5 separate regions of the Homo sapiens genome follow, and regions 1, 3, 4 and 5 are each linked to region 2. Evidence: promoter capture Hi-C in 16 types of primary human blood cells and fetal thymus (Javierre and others, 2016). All regions are on one chromosome and are shown on one strand. Each heading gives the region's core, a stretch centred on a gene start or on the middle of the fragment in contact. The rest is flanking DNA. Distances are from core to core; before and after follow the strand shown. Region 1 has its middle 53 kb from the start of GUCA2B. Region 2 holds the start of EDN2 (endothelin 2). Region 3 has its middle 5.7 kb from the start of GUCA2A. Region 4 has its middle 35 kb from the start of GUCA2B. Region 5 has its middle 77 kb from the start of GUCA2B.

The links. Contacts are between HindIII fragments. The CHiCAGO score rates a contact against its expected background, and 5 or more counts as called.
Region 1: a fragment that was not itself captured here is called in contact with the fragment with the promoter of EDN2 in region 2 in 1 of 17 cell types (naive B cells); the score reaches 5.1 in naive B cells.
Region 3: a contact is called between a fragment that was not itself captured here and the fragment with the promoter of EDN2 in region 2, in 1 of 17 cell types (neutrophils). The highest score is 6.4, in neutrophils.
Region 4: a fragment that was not itself captured here is called in contact with the fragment with the promoter of EDN2 in region 2 in 7 of 17 cell types (M2 macrophages, naive B cells, neutrophils and 4 more); the score reaches 6.7 in M2 macrophages.
Region 5: a fragment that was not itself captured here is called in contact with the fragment with the promoter of EDN2 in region 2 in 1 of 17 cell types (neutrophils); the score reaches 5.1 in neutrophils.

The regions. Positions count from the first base shown.
Region 1 is chr1:42,099,530-42,102,229 of GRCh38, forward strand. No RefSeq gene overlaps it. Among named protein-coding and RNA genes, the nearest start is that of GUCA2B, 53 kb to the right of the region's middle. The HindIII fragment of the contact is 639 bases long and covers 1,083-1,721 here.
Region 2 is chr1:41,483,216-41,485,943 of GRCh38, forward strand. EDN2 (endothelin 2) reads right to left here and starts at 1,468. Exons shown (of 5, transcript NM_001956.5): 1 at 1,323-1,468; 2 at 832-988. The coding sequence starts at 1,386. RefSeq lists an enhancer at 2,575-2,728. The HindIII fragment of the contact is 6,202 bases long and covers 1-2,728 here.
Region 3 is chr1:42,169,110-42,171,809 of GRCh38, forward strand. No RefSeq gene overlaps it. Among named protein-coding and RNA genes, the nearest start is that of GUCA2A, 5.7 kb to the left of the region's middle. The HindIII fragment of the contact is 3,327 bases long and covers 1-2,700 here.
Region 4 is chr1:42,117,146-42,119,846 of GRCh38, forward strand. No RefSeq gene overlaps it. Among named protein-coding and RNA genes, the nearest start is that of GUCA2B, 35 kb to the right of the region's middle. The HindIII fragment of the contact is 6,007 bases long and covers 1-2,701 here.
Region 5 is chr1:42,074,853-42,077,571 of GRCh38, forward strand. No RefSeq gene overlaps it. Among named protein-coding and RNA genes, the nearest start is that of GUCA2B, 77 kb to the right of the region's middle. The HindIII fragment of the contact is 7,081 bases long and covers 1-2,719 here.

The DNA.
Region 1 (2,700 bases), core at 152-2,651, 620 kb after region 2:
ACTCAAGAAGAAATAAAAAATCTGAATAAACCTATAACATGTAAAGAAATTGAATTAGTAGTAATTCACACAAAGAAAACCCCAATGCCTTAACTAGTGAAACACACCAAACTTTTAAAGAAGAATTAATATTAATCTTTCACAAATTATTCCAAAAACTAAAAGAGAATGAAACACTTTCCAATCCATTCTATGAGGCCAGTATTATACCCTGACACGAAAACCACATAAAAACATCACAAGGAAACTGCAGACCAACATGGCTTATAAATATAGACACAAAAATCCTCAACAAAACACTAACAAACCAAATCCACAAAATATTACATAACAGGATTATACACAAGATCAAGTGGGATTTATTACAGGAATGATAGTTGGCCCAACATATAAAAATCAATCAATGTCATGCACCATATTAATGGAATAAAGGATAAAAACCTCATGATCATCTCAATAGATGCAGAAAAAGCATTGACAAAACTCAACACCTTTTCATGATTAAAAAAACACTAAGCAAACTAAGAATAGAAGGGAACTTCCTCAACCTGAAAAAAGTTGACTACGAAAACCCACAACTAACATCATACTTAATAGCAAAAGACTGTAAGTTATCCTCCTGAGATCAAAAACAAGACATAGGATGTCCACTGTCACCACTTCTACTCAACATTTCACTGGAGATTCTAACTATGGCAATAGTCAATGGAAAGAAATTTTTTAAATTCACATTGGAAAAGACATAAAACTCTCTGTATTCATAGATGACGTTATTCTATAGACAGAAAATTTTAAGGAAGCCACTAAAAAGCAAATAGAGCTAAAAAACAAATTCAGCAAGGTTGCAGGACACAAGATCAATATAGTGAAATTAACTTTATTTCCACACATCAGCAACAAAAAAATCCAAAAAGGAAATTAAGAAAACAAATCTATTTATAATTACATCAGAATGAATAAAACAATTAGAAATAAATTCAGTAAAAGAAGTATAATATTTATATGATAAAAGTTACAAAAGATCATTGAAAGAAATTAAAGATCTAAATAAATGGAATGGCATCCCATGTTACAGGATGGGAAGCTTTAATATTATTAAGATGGCAATATTTCCCAAATTGATCTACAGATTCAATGCAATCTCTACCAAATTCCAGTTGTCTTTTTTGAAGACATTGAAAACTGATCCTAAATTTATATGGAAATATAAGGGCTGCAGAATAACCAAAACAATCTTGAAAAAGAAAAGCAAGTTCAGAGGACTCACGCTTCTCAATTTCAAATGAGCCAAGACAGTGCAGTGCTGGTGTAAGAACAGATACAAAGATAAACAGGATAAAAATAAAGAAGGGAGGAGGGGAGAGGGGAATTGGGAGTGACTGCTAATGAGAACGGGTTTATTTTTGGAGAGTTGAACATCTCTGGAATTAGATAATGGTTGCATAACTTTGTGAAACCATTCACAAAGTTTTCTCCATTCAGCCCAAATTGGAAAAAAACAAATATCAGTGGTTTAAAAAAAAAACCACTGAATTGTACACTTATAAAGGGTAAATTTTATGGTATGTGAATTATGTCTCAGTTCAAAATGAATAAATGAGTTTAATAGGTACATAATTTCAGTTTTACAAGACAAAAAGAGTTCTGTGGATGAATGGTGGTGAAGATACAACAATGGGAATGTGCTTACTGCCACTAAACTGCACGCTTAAAGATAGTTAAGCTTAAAGTAGTTAAGATAGTATATTGCGTGTTATATGTATTTTACCACAATTAAAATAAAGTCATTAAATGACTGAATGATAGAGAAAAATAGTGAATTTAGCAAGGCCAGTGCATACAAAATCAATATGTTTTTTAAATTTTATTTATATATACCAGCAACAAGCCTTTAGAAAATAAAATGTTAAATGACGAGTTAATGGGTGCAGCACACCAACATGGCACATGTATATATATGTAACAAACCTGCACGTTGTGCACATGTACCCTAAAACTTAAAGTATAATTTAAAAAAAAAAAAAAGTTAAGAAAAATACTATTTACAATAGCATCACAAAACAAATCAACCTAGAATTCGATTCAAAATAGATGTGTAAGACCTCAACCCAAAAACTCAAAAATATTGTTGAAATATGTTAAAGACTGAATAAATAAATGGAGAAATATAATATATTCATGATTAGACAATATTGTTAAGATGTTCACTCTCCCTCTATAGATTCAAAATGATCCCAATAAAATCCCCAGATGGTTTTGATTTTTGTGGAAATTGACAGGCAGACTCTAAATTTTTATTGAAATGCAAAGAGTCAAGGCAATTTTGAAGAGAAAGAAGAGCAGAGCTAAAGGATGTATGCTATCAGATAATGAAACTTATTATAAAGGTACAGGAAATAGGACAGTGTGGCATTGGAAAATAAACATAGACAAATAGACCAAACATAAACTATCTATAAACAAATTCGTGCACATATGGATGCTAGATTTAAGACAAAGCTGCCAATACCACCCAATAGGGAGAAGAACGCCTTCTTAGAAAATGACATAGGACAAGATCTTTATGACCAAAAGATTGATAAATTGGACTATGCTAAAATGAATAACTTTCTTTCTTCAAAACATGCCATTAAGGGAATGAGAAGCCATGGAGTGGGAGGTATTTACAAAAGAGAGCTGATAAAGAGCTCACAGTCATGT
Region 2 (2,728 bases), core at 218-2,717:
GCTAGACCAGCACTTTCGAGTGACAGAGCTAATTTTAGATGGTGTGGTTGGAGTCGCAGTGACTCCAGGTAGACTCAGCACGCAGGGACTGGCAGGGTTCCCGCCCTAAGCAAGTGTTTGGATGCGGATTAGCTTCACACACGCTTACGTGCAGGGCTTCTCTTGCCTTTTGCAATTTGGGGAGGGGAAAAAATCACAAACACACACAGAAACTTCAACTGAAGGTATGCAGTGGCCTGGAGGCAGTGCGGGTGCAGGCGGAACAGACAGCACGGGGCTCCCACCCGGGTGTAGCCAGTAGCACAGGGCAGGTTCTCATCTGTCGTTTGAGGGACTATCCTGCCTTATGGGGAGGATGGGGGGGCTCCTGAGATGATCATGCACGTGCAGTGCTTGGCAAAGAGCCTGGCATAGTCAAAGCACGGGTGCTGTCACTAATCGTATTATTATTGGAAGAGCATGCAGAGGCAGCATGACAGAGACTGTGAGCTCCGGCATTCCCCAACCGAGGATGGTGCCTACCCTTACAATTACCTGTGTGATCTTGGGGGAGGCGCTTAAGCTCTCTGAGCCTCAGCACTTGAATCTGGAAAACGGGGCCAACACTTGCTTACCAGGCTGTCTTAAGAATTCTCAGAAGACAGCCCTCTCTATGGCTCAGGTGGTCCCCACTCAGGAATTGAAACAATTAACTATTGATATTAGCCAGTGCCTCCATCTGGAGGCCCAGGGAGAGATGGAATGTGTCAACGTTCCCTAGCATGCCAGTAGCTTCCACCCTGACACCCTGCCCCAGAGCTCCCCCTGCCCCCAATCCCCATGGATGCTCACTCAGGAGTGTTCACCCAGATGATGTCCAAGTGGCAGAAGTAGACGCACTCCTTGTCGAGCCAGGAGCTGCAGGAGCAACGGCGAAGCCGAAGGTGGGTGCCTTGGGCATGAGATGAGGACGCTGGCTGCTCCAGGGTGGCAGCAGCCTGGCCCTTCCCTGCATGCACAGGAGGGAGAGAGAGGTGGAGAGGTGGGTTGGGGTGCCTGGCACATCCCAGAGTGGGGGACCCACCATGCCCCTCCTCTTGCATAATCGAGGGAGTTGGCACTCTTGCTGCTCAAGAGCTCCAGGCCAGCCCAGGGAAGTCCCAGCAGCCCGTGGGGAGCCTGGGCACCTCTGTATTTGCAGAACCTTTCCCCTGCCACCACTGCCGCCAGGCTCCCGCCCCTGTCTGCCCCCAGCTGGCTTGGGAGGCACTGCAGCCCTAGAGGGAGACAGAGATAGGCAGACCCAGGAGCTGTAGGCAGCAGGTGAGGCCAGGGCAGCTCACCTTCATGCAGGGCCACGAGCAGGGCTAGCGCAACGGAGCACCAGGTGGTAGGCACGGAGACCATAGCGGCGGTGGAGCGCGCAGGCTGGACTGGAGCAGGGAGTGCCTGTTGCCAGCGTCCTGCTATTAAGCTGAGCAGATAGCTCATTGCCTCGGTGCCCTGGCTGCCTCTTATACCAGGCACGGTGCCCCACCCCTTCTGGTCCAGCCCTGCCCCGCTGCACCGGCGGGCTGGGAGCCAGGGACACCGCCTCCTCCCCGGGCGCCTGGCCCGACCCAGCCTCTGCAGTGAAGGGGGGAGGGAGATGGAAGGCCCATTCCTCCCTCTGTGCCTGGAGCACCTCTGGGAGTCCTGAGGCTCCCTGGCAGTCCCCAGGGGCCCCTCGCAGTCCAGCTGGACTTCCTCAAGTCACCCCCAGCTGCCCCGAGCCCCCTCCCTCACTCTGTTGGCGGCTGCTCCACAGGTCTCGCCCAGGGCTGTGAGTGTGGAGGAGGAGGTTCCATGAGCAAAACCCCTCTCCTCGGAGAAGACTCTGCCATCTATCCTGCCTGCCCTCTGCCAACCAGGCTGAGGATGCCCCTCTGTTGTGTGGGATGTGAAAGGCCCACGCAAGGCTGTGTGGCCTTGGGCGAGTCAGAGCCCTCTCTGGGCCTGCCTCCCTCTGTGAAGGACACAGCTCATGCCTGACTTCTGACCAGCCTGGAACTGCTTCATCCCCACCTCACCCAGGAAATGCCCCCCTCAACCCCTGCCCTGTCACCCCAGGGCCTGGGGCAGGAGTTCTAGTCCCTTCCAGAAGCTGTTCAGCTATGCAGCCATGGCCAAGGGCATCCTTCCTGGGCCTGTTTCCTTGTTTGCAAACAAGGCCAAAACAAGAAGGTACTTCACCTGCTTGGCTTACAGGCTCCTTTGAGACTAAGAAGGTGGCTTCAGACCCCTTTCCAGAAAGATGTCCCTGAGGACACACACACAAAGCGCCCCTTGAACAGTCTCCTGTCCTGGCCATGACAGGATGTCTTGGCTTCCACCGGGGGCTACTGTCTGCAAAAGAAGTAAGCCAGGGGACTTCTCTGGGGACTGGCATTCTGCTCCTGCCCCTCTGCTGGCCCAGAAGCCTTGCCGGGGAGGGGAAAGCAGGGATGAACCACAGCTGTGCTGAGCAGCTCAGGGAACCGGCAGGCACCCTCTGTTCCTGCCCTGGCTGAGAGTCCACTTCCTGCTGGAGTCTTCTCAGGGACCCTGTCTCCAGGCACAACAGGAAAGGCCCTCTCGTTTCTTGGAATTCCCAGGGCCTGTGCCTCTCGTGCCTGCCTGACTCATCCCATTGCACTTATCTCCCCTGCAATCTCAAGGTCCAGAGCCCCAGAGGAGGCAGGGCCTGACACCTACCCTGCACACAGTAGGG
Region 3 (2,700 bases), core at 8-2,507, 690 kb after region 2:
CCTGTATTAGAATCCAGTGTCACCGGCCAGGCTTGCGATGGCTCATGCCTGTAATCCCAGCACTTTGGGAGGCAGAGGCGGGTGGATCACGAGGTCAGGAGTTCAAGACCAGCCTGGCCAACATAGTGAAACCCCGTCTCTACTAAAAATACAAAAATTAGCTGGGTATGGTGATACATGCATGTAGTTCCAGCTACTCGGGAGGCTGAGGCAGGAGAATTGTTTGAACCCATGAGGCAGAGGTTGCAGTGAGCCGAGATCGCACCACCACACTCCAGCCTGGGCGACAGAGCGAGGAAAAATGCTCCATGACCTTTCTGAGCCTCAGTTTCTGCTTTAAAAAATGGAGACAATAACAGCTAGATTGCAAATTTCAGTTTTTCTGGAAGACTCTCCTAACTGACCCCAGCCCTGGCAAGCCCGAGTTAAGACCATTTCTACTCCTCTGAGCTCCACCAGCCTCCTACACCTTTGCCATCACAAAACTTAGCAAATTGTCTGTCTAGCCTACTGCCCTGGGAGCTGCTTGAAAGCAGAGACTGTGTCCTACTCAACTGAGGCCCTGTACTCATACAAGGCCTGGCACTTAGTAGGTACCACTGAGTCTTTAAAGAATGAGGCAGGTTGTAATGTTTGCAATGATCATCACATTAATGACAGCAGCTAATATTTGTCAAGACTCACCCTGTGCCAGGCTCTGGCCAAGTGCTTTACAAGTGTGGAAGCCAGTCTTGCTCCCTAAAGCCCCGCCACCCCTCACCCACTTCCAGAAGCTGCAGAGGTTCTGCCCTGCTGTTGGGGCAGCCCTCCAGTCTCTGTGAAGATGCTGATGTTTGATTCTTGTGTCTAGGTGATCTTATCATGGCTCCTGTGTGCACATTAAAATTGGGACCATTAAGCCTCAGTCCCCCCATTCCCACAGGCCCAGAGGCCTAATCGGACCTCAGCAGGAAGGCCTGGAACAGAGCCCAGGTGGGAACCTGAAGACTCCAATACAGATCTGTGTAACCTTGAAAGGGGTGTGGTCCACAATACACAGCCTCTCCAACCTGCTTGTAAATGTGTCTTGGAGGGTGTAACAATCTCTGGTTCCTATAAGAATCCAGAACTGCCTGAGGCAGACATTACAATATATGTGAACCTCCTGACAGCACTGGAAACACCTAAGAAATAACTACATAACCCTATTTTATACATGGGTAAACTGAAGCTCAGAGAGGTTAAGAAAGTATAATTTTCCCAAAGGTGCATACAGGGATGCTGTGTACAGTTGTATTGGTTGTGCACTGCACAAGGGTACCCGACCAACAGAGAGCATAAGTGTGGACACAAGCATGCGACTACCTCAGCCTAGAGGAAAGCACAATACTTCAGACTCATTGCCAGGTGGACTGGGTGGCAACTGTGGTCACGTAGCTAGAAATCCCAGAACAGAATCCATTTCTTTCAACTGCCAAAGAAAAGCCTAAAGTTCTATTGAGTCCATCCCATTCCTCTGCACTGTCTTCCTGGTCCCAAACACCCATTTTTGCCCCCTTCTAGGGAAAAGGAAAAAGAAAGGAGTCGCCACTGAGTCAGACCCTGTGAGGTAGGTCAATGATGTCCATCTTAGAGGATGAAACTGAGGCTCTCAGAAAGAGTGCTCAATGTCACACAGAAAGTGGATGGCTGAGTTGGAATTGGAAGCCTTTTGGCTGAAGCCCAAGTCCAGGCTAGGGTGGAGGGATCTCTCCCCCACCCCCAGGCCCTGGGTGGCCCGGCTCTTTCCCTTGATGCTCCAGGGGGCAGCTGGGGAGTGGGCAGGGGGCGTGCCTGGCTGTTTGCTCAGCGATGTCATCTCAGGGCCCTGTGGCCTCACCAGGAAGAGGCGGTGAAGAAACTCCGTTCACCATCTGCTCCCCCTCAGTGGGACAGCAGCTGCAGCCTTCTCCCGCATCCCCCAGCCTGCTTTGGGCATTGGCCACCAAGACAACCTCCCACACCCAAAGGCTGACAGGGAAGGAGAGCACAGCTGGAGCTCCCTCCACCTGCCCCCATAGAAGACGCTCGCAGAGCCCACAGGCTACAGGGAGGGTAGGGCATGGGTACAGACTCCCTGGGATGAGGGAGGAACAAGCCGAGGCTACCAGTCCTCCTGGCACCAGATCAGAGAATGCTTTACCTGACAAGGTGGCATTTGCAACAGGTCTTGATCAATGGGAAGATTTGGACCCATCGAGGGGAGAGCCGCGAGGCAAAGGCCTGGCAGCAGGAAGCATAAATGGCAAAGCGGGGGCGGCTGAGGTGAAAGCAGAGGGTGTCTCAAGGACTCATGGGCCAGCAGCCCAGAGAAGGCGGCTTCACACACTGGGCTGAGGAGTTTTGCCCTTCACCTGGTGACAGCAGGGAGCTACAAGAGTTTTCAGAGTAGGGGAGGCCTTGGTAAGAGTCATGATTCAGAAGGAGTGCCCTGGCACTTGGCGTTAAAAGTGGACTGTCTAGCGATGGCTGCTGCATGGGTCCAGGAGAGGTCTGTGTTCCACCCCTGGCAGTGCCCCAGAAGGGCAGGGGGTGGATTGGAAGCATAGAATGGCAGGAAAAGCAACTGGTCTTGGCAACTTGGCAACAGATGGAGAGGAGAGGGAGGGAGACAGAGAAGGGAAGACCGCCCCTGGGAACCTAATATGTGCCAGGGCAGCTTTTGCCATCTGACTCCTCACT
Region 4 (2,701 bases), core at 115-2,614, 630 kb after region 2:
TGGGTGGCTTTTTAGTGGAATATTAAGGAGATTGGGGTGTCCTGGAAGCCAAGGGGGAAATGTGTTTCAGGAGAACAAAGAGATCAGCTGTGTCAAATCATACTAAAAGGTCAAGTAAGATGAGGACCAAGAATTGACCTCTGGATATGAATATGTGGAGGTCCCTGATGATCTTGGTGAAATCAATGTCTTTGAAGGGGCAGAGAGGGTTCAGGGGATCAGGGGAGAAGAGGAAATGGAGACAATATGTTACGCAATTCCTCAATGAGTTCTGATGCAAAGGGAAGAAAGGAAGAGAGACGTTTCGGCATGTTTGCATGATGATGGGAAGGATGGAGTAGACACAATTGACAATGGATGCAGGAGAGAGGGGAGATCAACAAAGGAGCCGGGAGCATTCAAATGCATGAGGAGGCTGCGCTCCATTGCACCCATGGTCAACTTGGTCATAGATGGGAACACAAATGCTTCATCCACGGGAAGGAAAGGAATGGCAGAGCGGCAGGTACAGATGCTGGAAGGTGCTGCCGGTGGCGCAGGGAGGTCGCAGAAACTCTCTTCTGACAGCTTCTGTTTTCTCTGAGAGTAAGCTCACAGAGCAGGTGCTGGAGTTTGGAGACAGATGAAGAGGCATGAAAGAGGAGAGCAGACTGGGGACGGACGAGGGAAAAGCCCCACTCACTGAAACTGGAGAACAGTGGGCTTAGAAAACATCCCAATAAAGTAATTTGCAAAAAGAACAGCAGAATTGAAAGGGGTGAGGGACAAGGGTAGAGTGAAAACTGCTATGTCATTTTGGATAAGTCAGACAATAAGAGCCACAAGTACTAGCCTTGTAGGTGGAGGGGCGATTTGAGCTGATTTACTGAGAACAGTGAATTTGAGTATTTATCGAGAAATTAATAATAATGCCAAGTACTTTACATTAACTAGTTTATTTAATCCTAACAAAACCCAAGTAGCTATTTGTATCATCATCACCAAGCACAGAATCATCTGCTTTAGGTCACACAGATTTAATGGTAGAGCTGGTACTGAATCCAACTCAGTCTGGCTCTAGTGTCCCCACTTCTAAGCTCTCCTTCAACCTACCAGTTAAAAAGTGCTTGAGAAGCTGCGGTCTTGATGTCAGCAAATGGGAATTCAGCAGAGCTTACTGGCAGGATGAGTTCCATGTGGACAAGGCTGGGTAGTCCACCAGGGCACACTTCACTCACTTGTGAAGGACAGAATAAAAGGATATTGTCTCTTTAGAAACAGTGGACTTTCCAGAAGAATTGTATAACTCATGAATATAACTGTTCAGGGTCATAAAGGCACAAAGCCACACACTGCATTTTCTTAAAGCAAAGCATATTTATATTTAGAAACAAACTGCAAAGAGCCAGTGTAGGAAAATCCAGAGGAAAAAGTGTACCCAGGGGCCTATTGTTCATGAAGAGGAACACTGACTACTCCCTGAACTTTGTTAAATATTCAGGTTATTGATATTATAATTCTACTAAGCTAGCATCATTTTAAACCTGAAATCATTAACATTCTTCTCAGTCACCCAAAATGCATACAAAATACAAATCATAACTGATGGATTTAGTAAATTAGGTTTCCACAAGCACTCAAAAACTGACTACTAACTTAGTCTTCTGAGGTGTTCAGGATCATAACTCTCATATCAGATTCTCCTAAATACCTTAAACACCCCCAAAATATCACAATTGTTTAAAGTGTGATTATTACTATTATATTAAAACTATTTACAGAAATACTAATGCCCCTGACTTAAATTTATTTCTCGGTCATCTCTATTTTTATCTTTTACCTATTGTTATTCTTGTTTTTTCCCTGTTCTGGGGGGTTACCTCCTAGAATTGTAGTAATTTTACCAGCTCTGATATATACCTCCTCTGCATAATGCAGTAGCCAATAGCCATTTAAATTATTTAAATTAATTAAACTAATTAAATTTAAATTAATTAAGTTTAATTTAAAATTCAGTCCCCGGCAGTCACATTTCACGTGCTCAATAGCTACATATAGCTGGTAGCTACCATATGGGCAGTACAGATAAAGAAAATTTCCACCATTGAAGATGGTTCTTTTGAACAGAGCTCATCTATACCTTCTTCGGGATGTAGTCATCTTACTAGACTCAGAAGAAGAAACAAACACCATCTCAGAGGAGCTAAGTTTGCAAGTTCTGGGATGTCAACCTATTAGCTCTCAGTTGAGAAACAGGACCTGGTTGCACAGTGCAAGGAGACTCAAACCTGAGCCTCTATTCATTGGCCTAATCTTCTTGTATAATAAAGTTTCACTCATTGCATCAATAGGACTTATTTCATGTAAAATTTGTAATTTTGACATTTGGTATCTTTCCCAGATATGATATACTCTTTAAGTCTCACAAGCTCAGAATTACCTTATTAATTGACTGTCATTGCGATCTATTGACCCACTCTGTGAGTAGTATTGAAATTTTAAGTAGACTTCATCAGACTCTCATTATAATTAGCTAGAACAGCTAGAAGAGAGATAGAATCTGTGCAATGATTTCTGCTGTTTGAAAGACTTGGTTAATTTATCATCTTAGAACTGAATTTGGTCGTACTGTAGACGACCATTGATGCCGAATGATTGCTGACCTTTTGTTTACCTGGATAAGTTGCTTGACCCATGGCTTCAAACAGTCCTTGTTCTTGGT
Region 5 (2,719 bases), core at 210-2,709, 590 kb after region 2:
TCCACTGAAGGATACTTAGGCTGATTCCATATTTTTGCTATTGTGAATAGTGTTGCAGTAAACATGGGGTGCAGGTATCCTTTTGACACAATGATTTCCTCTTTTAAAAAAGTATCTAGTAGTACGATTGCTGAATCATATGGTACTTCTACTTTAGTTTTTTCAGAACTCTCCATATTGATGGCTGTACTAATTTACATTTCCACTAGCAATTAATAAGTGTTCCCTTTTCTCAGCATCTTTGACAGCATCTGTTATTTCTGTCTTTTTGATAATAGCCATTCTAACTGGGGTAAGATGATATTTTACTGTGGTTTTGATTTGCATTTCCCTAATGATTACTGATGTTGAGCATTTTTTTCATATTCCTGCTGGCCATTTGCAAGTCTTCTTTTGCGAAATGTCTGTTCAGATCCTTTGCCCACTTTATAATGGAACTATTTGGTGTTTTTGCTGTTGAGCTGCTTGAGTTCCTTGTATATTCTAGATATTAGTCCCTTGTTGGATGAATATTTTCTCCCATTCAACAGGTTGTCTTCAGTCTGTTGATTGTTTCCTTTGCAGAAAGGTAAAACCTCTGCAAAAAACATAGTCCCATTTGTCTATTTTGGTGTTTGTTGCCTGTGCTTTTGAGGTCTCAGCCATAAAACCTTTGCCTAGCCCAATGTCTTGGAGTGTTCCCCATGTTAGTAGATATGTAGTTTGGGGTCTTACATTTACGTCTTTAATCCATCTGGAGTTGATTTTTGTACATGTGAGAGACAGGAGTCTAGTTTCACTCTTCTGCATATAAATACCCAGTTTTACCAGCACTACTTATGGAAGAGGTTGTCATTTCTCCAATGTATGTTCTTGGAGTCTTTGTCAAAAATCAATTGGCTGTAAATACATGGATTTATTTCTGGGTTCTCTATTCTGCTCTATTGGTCTCTGTGTGTGTTTCTATACCAATACCATGCTGTTTTGGTTATCATAGCCTTGCAATATATTGAAGTCAGGCAGGGTGATGCCTCTGGCTTTGTTCTTTTGCTCAAGATTGCTTTGGATCTCTTTTTGTTCCATACTAATTTTACAGTTGTTTTTTTCTATTTCCATGAAAAATGTCATTGGTGTTTTCATACAAATTGCATTGAATCTGTAGATTGCTTTGGGCAGCACAATCATTTTAACATTACTAGCTTTTTGATCCATGAGCATGGGATATCTTTCCATCTGTTTGTGTTCTCTTTAATTTCTTTCATCAGGTGTTTTGAATCTTCCTTGAAGAGATCTTTCATACCCTTGGTTAAATGTGTTCCTAGGTATATTTTTTCTGTAGCAATCATAAATGGGATTGCTTTCTTGGTTTCTTTCTCAGATAGTTTTTTTAATTGGTGTATAGAAATGCTACTGATTTTTGTATATTTATTTTGTATCCTGAAACTTTACTGAGTTGTTTATCAGATCTAAGAATATTTTGGTGAAGTCTTTAGGTTTTTCTAAATATAAAATCATGTCATCTGAAAGAGAGAAAATTTGACTTCCTCTTTTCCGATTTGGAAGGGCTAGGACTTCCAGCTGTATGTTAAATAAAAGTGGTGAAAGTGGGAATTTTTATCTTGCTCCAGTTCTTTTAGCTTTTCCCCATTTAGTATGATGTCAGCTGTGGGTTTTTCACGTATGGCCTTTATTATGTTGAGGTAAGTTCCTTTTACGCTTAGTTTGTTGAGAATTTTTATCATAGAGAGATGTGAAATTTTATCAAATGCTTTTCTGTATCTGTTGAAATGATCATATGGTATTTCTTCTTCATTCTGTTGATGTGGTATGTCAAATTTATTTATTTGCATGTGTTGAACCATCCTTGCACCCCTGGGATAAATTACACTTGATCATAATGTAGTATCTTTTTGATATGTGGATTTGGTTTTCTCATGTTTTGTTGAGGATTTTTGCATCTGTGTTAATCAGGGATATTGGCCTGTAGTTTTCTTTCTTTTGGTGTGTCCATGTCTGGCTTCAGCATCAGAGTGATACTGGCCTCATAGAATGAGTCAGGGAGAATTCCCTTCTCTTTAATGCTTTGGAATAGTTTAAGGAGAATTGGTGTTATTTCTACTTTATAAGTTTGGAGGAATTCAGCAGTGAAGCCATGCAGTCCTAGACTTTACTTTGTTGGAAGAATGTTTATTACTGATTAATCTTGTTACTTGTTATCGGTCTGTTTGGGTTTTTTATTTCTTCCTGATTCAATCTTGGTAGGTTGTATGTGTCCAGGAATTTATTCATTTCATCTAGGTTTTCCATTATGTTAGTATATAATTGTTTAAAATAGTGTCTGATGATCTTTTACATGTCTATGATACCAGTTGTAATATCTCCTTTTTCATGTCTGATTTTGTTTATTTGGGTCTTCTGTCTTCTTTCCTTGGTTAGCAGTTTATCAATTTTGCTTATCCGTTCAAAACAGCAATTTTTTTTGTTTCATTGATCCTTTGTACTGTTTTTTCAGTCTCTATTTTGTTTAATTCTGCTCTAACATTTATTATTTCTTTTCTCATGCTAGTTTGGGGTTTTGGTTTGTCCTTCCTTTTCTAGTTCCCTAAGGTGCATCATTAGATTGTTTATTTGAAATCTTTCTACTTTTTTGATGTAGACATGTATTGCTATAAACATCCCTCACCACTGCTTTTGCTGTATTCTATAGGTTTGGGTATGTTGCATTTCCATTTTAATTTGT